Linked DNA regions of Homo sapiens: region 1 is linked to region 2. Evidence: promoter capture Hi-C in 16 types of primary human blood cells and fetal thymus (Javierre and others, 2016). All regions are on one chromosome and are shown on one strand. Each heading gives the region's core, a stretch centred on a gene start or on the middle of the fragment in contact. The rest is flanking DNA. Distances are from core to core; before and after follow the strand shown. Region 1 overlaps EFHC2 (EF-hand domain containing 2). Region 2 holds the start of NDP-AS1 (NDP antisense RNA 1).

Evidence for each region. Contacts are between HindIII fragments. The CHiCAGO score rates a contact against its expected background, and 5 or more counts as called.
Region 1: a contact is called between a fragment that was not itself captured here and the fragment with the promoter of NDP-AS1 in region 2, in 1 of 17 cell types (monocytes). The highest score is 5.3, in monocytes.

Annotation. Positions count from the first base shown.
Region 1 is chrX:44,196,497-44,199,946 of GRCh38, reverse strand. All of the region lies in intron 11 of EFHC2 (EF-hand domain containing 2), which reads left to right. Among named protein-coding and RNA genes, the nearest start is that of EFHC2, 150 kb to the left of the region's middle. The HindIII fragment of the contact is 1,280 bases long and covers 637-1,916 here.
Region 2 is chrX:43,948,124-43,951,552 of GRCh38, reverse strand. It overlaps NDP-AS1 (NDP antisense RNA 1), which reads right to left and starts at 1,821. Exons shown (of 6, transcript NR_046631.1): 1 at 1,473-1,821. It overlaps NDP (norrin cystine knot growth factor NDP), which reads left to right. Exons shown (of 3, transcript NM_000266.4): 3 at 1,527-2,777. The coding sequence ends at 1,754. RefSeq lists enhancers at 1,110-1,626, 1,627-2,144. The HindIII fragment of the contact is 3,781 bases long and covers 1,306-3,429 here.

The sequences.
Region 1 (3,450 bases), core at 27-2,526, 250 kb before region 2:
TCTGTAACAGTTCCTCAACCTTTCTTTGTCTTTTATGACCTTGATACTTTTTAAGAATAGTGGTCAATTATTTTGTAGAATGTTGTTCAATTTGGAGTTGTCTGATGTTTTCTCATAGTTGGACTGAGATTATACACTTTTGGAAAGAATACCACAGAAATGATGTTGTCTCCTTCTTAGAACATCATATCAAGTGGTTCATGATGTCAGTATGTCTTACTACTGGTGATGTTGGCCTTGATCACTTGATTCAGGTAATGTCTGCCAGCTTTCTCCATTGGAAAGTTACTATCTTTCCTTTTGCATTTAATAAATACCTTGAAAGAGACACTTTGAGACTATGCAAACCCTACTTTTTCTCAAACTCACCTGCTAATTTTAGCATCTGGCAATAGAACTCTTTGAGTAATTTTGATTTTACCTTTCCAGGCTAGCTTATAAACTGGTCTAATTTCATGTTAATTTTGATGTTAATTAATTGCCTTGGAACATGGATTAGTCAATTTTTTTTGTTATAAAGGAATACCTGAGGCTGGGTAATGTATAAAGAAAAAATGTTAATTTTGGATTATGGATCTTCAGACTGTACACGAAGTGTGGTGCTAGCATCTGCCTCTGGTGAGAGCTCAGGAAGCTTACAATCAGGGCAGAAAGCAAAGTGGGGAGCTGGCATATTACATGGTAAGAGGGAGCAAGAGAGAGAGTAAGGAGGTGTCAACTTCTTTTAAACAAGCAGATCTCATGTGATCTCAGAGCGAGAGCTCACTCATCACTGAGGGGATGGCGCTGAGCCATTCATGAGGGATCTGCCTCCATGATCCAAATCCCTCCCACCAGGCCCCACCTCCAACGCTGGGGATTACCTTTCAATGTGAGATTTGGAGGGGACAAACATGTGAACTGTATCAGAGCTTTATATAGTAAGTGGGCAAAATAAATTTATACTCCAAATTCTTATTAGGTGGAATATTGGCTTTGATTTCTATCAGATAACTTATTTTTTTTATACCTAGAGACTCAGCAGAGAAAAGCCTCATTGTCATCTCTCTTGTCCAATGGGTAGAATTTATTAATTCTTTCACTTCACTTGCAGCCTTTTACAGTTCTAGCTTTATGCATAGGTTTAATGTGTAGGAGTTCCCAATTGCTACTCTCCTGGACTGGAGGTCTTGTCGTTTGTGCCCTGGTGAGTGTTAAAAAATCTAAGCTCTTACCTGCTAAAGGGTTTGATCCCACTTCCTCCCCACCCCAACTACCTCTCATCCTGCTGCCACCTATTAGCTTGTTCATCTTCCTCTCTGGCTGTCAGCTACCTCTTCGCGTTGGTACCTGGGGACATTTCTCTCTGTTTTCACAAGCTCAGCCAGGAGTGTGAGTTTTAATTGCTGCCTAGTCTACCATTTTGCCATGCACAATCTCTCTCCCATGCCATAAGACTCTCTAAAATTACACTGGGGAAAATACTGACTAGACACGTTATTATTAGGGAATGTCACTTTATTATTAATACCTATGCTAAACTGGATTTGGCTGTGATCGTATAGGCCTAGTTAAAATCAGTTCCACTATTTAAAAATCTTAATCACGCTTAGGCTTCTCTCTTTCTATTTTTGAAGCACATCCATTCTTATAACCTTGAATTTTATGGGACGCTAGAAAAAATTATTGGCATTTTAGAATAAATAAATCATATAATGTTGTGCCAAAACAGATAGAGTGTTTCTTATGTTTCTAAAGAGTGGAAAAAGGACCAACTCTTTTTCTGGGGTTTTATATATACATATATATTTATATTGTGTTTATTTTATTTCTTTTTCCATGATTATATTCTTGTGGAAATGAGGAAATCATTAACAGTGAAACTACTGTTTCATCCAAAATACAGTGTTCTAATGGTCTGTTTTCTAAATGAAGCTTCTATGAATAAAAGCAAGGCCGCTATATAGCCATTTAGTTGCTAACAAATGACCTGGTTAGTGCCACCCATGATTTCTTCTTTAATTAGATTGCAAATTTTGTGTTTAAAAATGGGAGCAGTAAGTAAATGCTAATTTGTAGTTCCTCAGAGGGAGAATTGTGATGTAAAAATTAGGATATAAAATGAGAGGATACCGCAGGGCAGGAGGGTAATGGCACTTGGGCCACCATAGGGCAGGCCCTGCCAGGCTGCTTTTCATTCAAGTAAATTTTGCAACTCAAAGTACTGGGTATGGAAGGCGTGCCACATAGTACAGTGTTTAATCATGTAAGTTTATTCTTTCTTCATTCAATAAACATATATTGTGCATGTGCTCTGTATTGGGTCCCATGGTGGATGACAGAGGCTCAGAGGTGAATGAGCTGCCTTTTGGGAGTGCCAGCCTCATCTGTGGCCTTGGACTGCTGGTTCTGTGCTGCCAATCTGGGTCACTCTCTTCCCACACCATTTTGGAGGGGTCTCTCCTTTGCTGTCCAGTTTCTTCTGCCTGCTCCTGAAGACATGAACTAAATTATATTTCTTCTCTTAAGATGTTCCTTACCACTGCAGCTCAGAGTAATCCTTGCCTCTTTGAACTCATTTTATTTATGGCTGGTGCTACCCAGCATATCTTTTTATTCCCACATGCATGTTAGTTGGAGAATAGATGGATGAATGAATGAATGAATGAATGAATGAACGAACAAAGGTGGTGCCTTTTGTTTGGATTCAATTTTCACTCACTTAATAGGATCATATTGACAGGGCATTCCTAGACTTATTTTGACCTTTCTTGAAGGATGATTCATTCTACCACTTACTAATAATTATCATAAAAGCTAACATTTATATGCTTGCTGCTTACCATGTGACAAATGTTGCACTAAATGCTTTCTACATATTAACTCATTTACTCCTCACAGCAATCCTACAAAGTGGGCACTATTATTATTCCCATTTTGCAGATGAGGAAACTAAGAAGCAGAGAGGTTAAGGAATGTACCCAGAATTACATATTAAGTTGCAGAGCTGGGATTTGCATCAGGCAGTCTAGCAATTTCATCATGAGTTATGATTTAGAATCAAACTAGCTAAGGTTGACAATTCATTCTGCCTCTCTAATGCTTCAGGTTCATCATCTGTGAAATGAGAATCATTCAATGGCTTACTGGGGGCGTTAGATGAATTAACATATGCTAAACACTAAGCCAGCAAATATCCATGACATTAGTTCCATCCATTTCTTCTTACCACTGGCCACATGGAACTTACACTCTGGGTCTAGAAAGCATGTATGTGCCCCTGGATGGCTCAGCAGCTGTCTCCACCAACTTTGAGATCTTGGCTGTGATTAAAATCTTTTTCCTTGACTCTGCCTTTTCTGGAAGACTGTCTTTTGGAATGGGGGCAGTTGGGGTAGGATTAAAAAACACTTTCTGAGTAAATACCCCTTCAGTTCTTCTTCTCACTATTGTATGTATTTTTATATTTAT
Region 2 (3,429 bases), core at 572-3,071:
TTGTAAGGTAAACGTCAAAAGGTTTCATGCATATATATGTATCTTTTAATCTTTCATTTGAACAGTTTCACTTTTTATGATCTTGCTGTTGGTTCTGGAATTATAGGACAAATTTTTCTTTTCTTTTCTTTTCTTTTTGAGACAGGGCCTTGCTCTGTCACTCATGCTGGAGTACAGTGGCTTGATCATAGCTTCCTGCAGCCTCTAATTCCTGGGTTCAAGTGATCCTCCTGCCTCAGCTGCCAAAGTAGCTGGGACTACAGGTGCACATCACCACGCCTGGTTAACTTTTTATTTTTTTTTTTAGAGACACGGTCATGCTATGTTGCCCAGGCTGGTCTCAAACTCCTGGGGTCAAGTGATCCTCCTGCCTCAGACTCCAAAGTGTTGGGATTATAGGCATGAGACAATACACCTGGCCCAGGGGATTTTTTTCTCCATCACTTAACATGAAATTCACCAAGCAAAACCTCTTACATAACCATGGGACCAATAATCTCAGATTCTCCATTCCCCTCCCCACCTTGATATTAGGATTATGCAGCTTAATGAGTCAAGCTGTCCCACCCTACCCACCTATTACTCCCACTCCCAGGATACCAGGAGTTTTGTATGGGATACATAAATGATCCTTTTTTCCATTCCGTTAAGCTGTATGCAAATTGTGTGTGTGCTTATGTACATTTTTCTGGGGATAACTTTGGTAGTTTTCATCAGATTCTTAAAGGTGTCTGTTTGCTAAAGCCAGATTAAGAGCTACTATAAAGAACACATAGCCTCCGTTATTCCAGCCCAATCTTTGGAAATAGAGATTATCAGAATGGGTACATCCTAATATTTGCCGCAAATGACTCTGAAGATGCGGATGCAATTACATAAATCCCAGGCTCCTTCAACATATAAACCCAGAAGTGTGATTTCAGGGCCCCAGACATGCCCTGTCTCTACTTCATTCTCTTGTCCCAAATTGCAGCACCCAGAATATTTCTTCCTAAGCATTACTCAGGCTATCCTATTTTCTTATTCAGAAACTATATTCCTGTTCTTTAGCTATTTCCTGCACAAATCAATTTCTTTTTTTTTTTTTTTTTTTTGGTAGTCATTTTAATTTACTTCTTGGTTTCAATTTGGATTGACTTTCTGCATTTTGCTACTGGTAGAATTGCAATGCATTGGGCCAGTGGTAGACCACTACCTGTCAGGAGAAATTTCTTTTGTTCTTTGGTTTTTACTCGCACATCACAGTGATGGGCGTCATTCAGTGGTTCTAAACCCTCAGTACACTTAGAAATCACCTAAGAAGCTTTGAAAACCATGAAAGCCTGGTCCCTATCTCCAAGGATTTTAATTCAATCGATCTGAATGAGGCCTGGGTGTTGACTTAAAAAAAATGCAACATGCATTGAGCCACTGGTCTAATCTAGCAGGAATTGGCAACGAGTGTGAGGGTCTTTCAAAAGATGCTGTTTTACCTGGCTAAGGTTGTGGCATGCCCACAGAGTAACCACCTCCTTTTCTTTCCCCAGATGGTGCTCCTGGCCAGGTGCGAGGGGCACTGCAGCCAGGCGTCACGCTCCGAGCCTTTGGTGTCGTTCAGCACTGTCCTCAAGCAACCCTTCCGTTCCTCCTGTCACTGCTGCCGGCCCCAGACTTCCAAGCTGAAGGCACTGCGGCTGCGATGCTCAGGGGGCATGCGACTCACTGCCACCTACCGGTACATCCTCTCCTGTCACTGCGAGGAATGCAATTCCTGAGGCCCGCTGCTGTGTGTGGCTTCTGGATGGGACAACTGTAGAGGCAGTTCGACCAGCCAGGGAAAGACTGGCAAGAAAAGAGTTAAGGCAAAAAAGGATGCAACAATTCTCCCGGGACTCTGCATATTCTAGTAATAAAGACTCTACATGCTTGTTGACAGAGAGAGATACTCTGGGAACTTCTTTGCAGTTCCCATCTCCTTTCTCTGGTACAATTTCTTTTGGTTCATTTTCAGATTCAGGCATTTTCCCCCTTGGCTCTCAATGCTGTTTGGGTTTCCAACAATTCAGCATTAGTGGGAAAAAGTGGGCCCTCATACACAAGCGTGTCAGGCTGTCAGTGTTTGGTGCACGCTGGGGAAGAATTTACTTTGGAAAGTAGAAAAGCCCAGCTTTTCCTGGGACATCTTCTGTTATTGTTGATGTTTTTTTTTACCTTGTCATTTTGGTCTAAGGTTGCCATTGCTGCTAAAGGTTACCGATTTCAAAGTCCAGATACCAAGCATGTGGATATGTTTAGCTACGTTTACTCACAGCCAGCGAACTGACATTAAAATAACTAACAAACAGATTCTTTTATGTGATGCTGGAACTCTTGACAGCTATAATTATTATTCAGAAATGACTTTTTGAAAGTAAAAGCAGCATAAAGAATTTGTCACAGGAAGGCTGTCTCAGATAAATTATGGTAAAATTTTGTAAGGGAGCAGACTTTTAAAGACTTGCACAAATACGGATCCTGCACTGACTCTGGAAAAGGCATATATGTACTAGTGGCATGGAGAATGCACCATACTCATGCATGCAAATTAGACAACCAAGTATGAATCTATTTGTGGGTGTGCTATAGCTTTAGCCGTGTCACGGGCATCATTCTCTAATATCCACTTGTCCATGTGAAACATGTTGCCAAAATGGTGGCCTGGCTTGTCTTCTGAACGTTTGGTTCAAATGTGTTTTGGTCCTGGAGGCTCAAATTTTGAGTTATTCCCACGTTTTGAAATAAAAAGAGTATATTCAAAATTTTGACTGTTTAAGTATTTTTTTCCTACTTGATATCCTACTATCATGTGGACTAGAACATACATGTAGCTAGTGCTTGAGCATCTCCTATGATATAGTAAAAGAGTCAAAAAAAAAAAAAAGGAGACAGAAATGGGGTTCCAGAATGCATTGTGGGAACATTTTTTTGAAATCAATGTAACAAGGTGTTGAGGGCTTATTAAATTTGACTCTGAGTTTTAGATTTTAGCCCATTGAATAAACACAAAATCTAATGCATTTTGGCTTCCTTGGAAGCTATGGAATGAAACAGAGGAGTCCCCTCCTTTTTAATTTCTTCACTTTTCTCAGAAGAAAATAAATATCCATAAGTGAAGTTGGAAGAACCAGCAGAAGGACAAATAGTTAACAACATTTCTGTGCCATTGACTGTGCAGTGCTCAGGATCGAATGATATTACTGGGCATTACAAGAATACTCATGATGTTAGCACAGTGCTATGTCCCTCTTAGGTATCTCAATACAAATCCAGACTTGGCAATTCAGTTTCCAGGGCAACCTTGTCCTGGTTAACTAGAGATGATATTAACTCCCCCACTGTTAGTACAGCCAACCTGTGAATTACTTTTCCAGTAGAGATAATGGTTTTGAACACTCTTTGGCACAGCTTTCA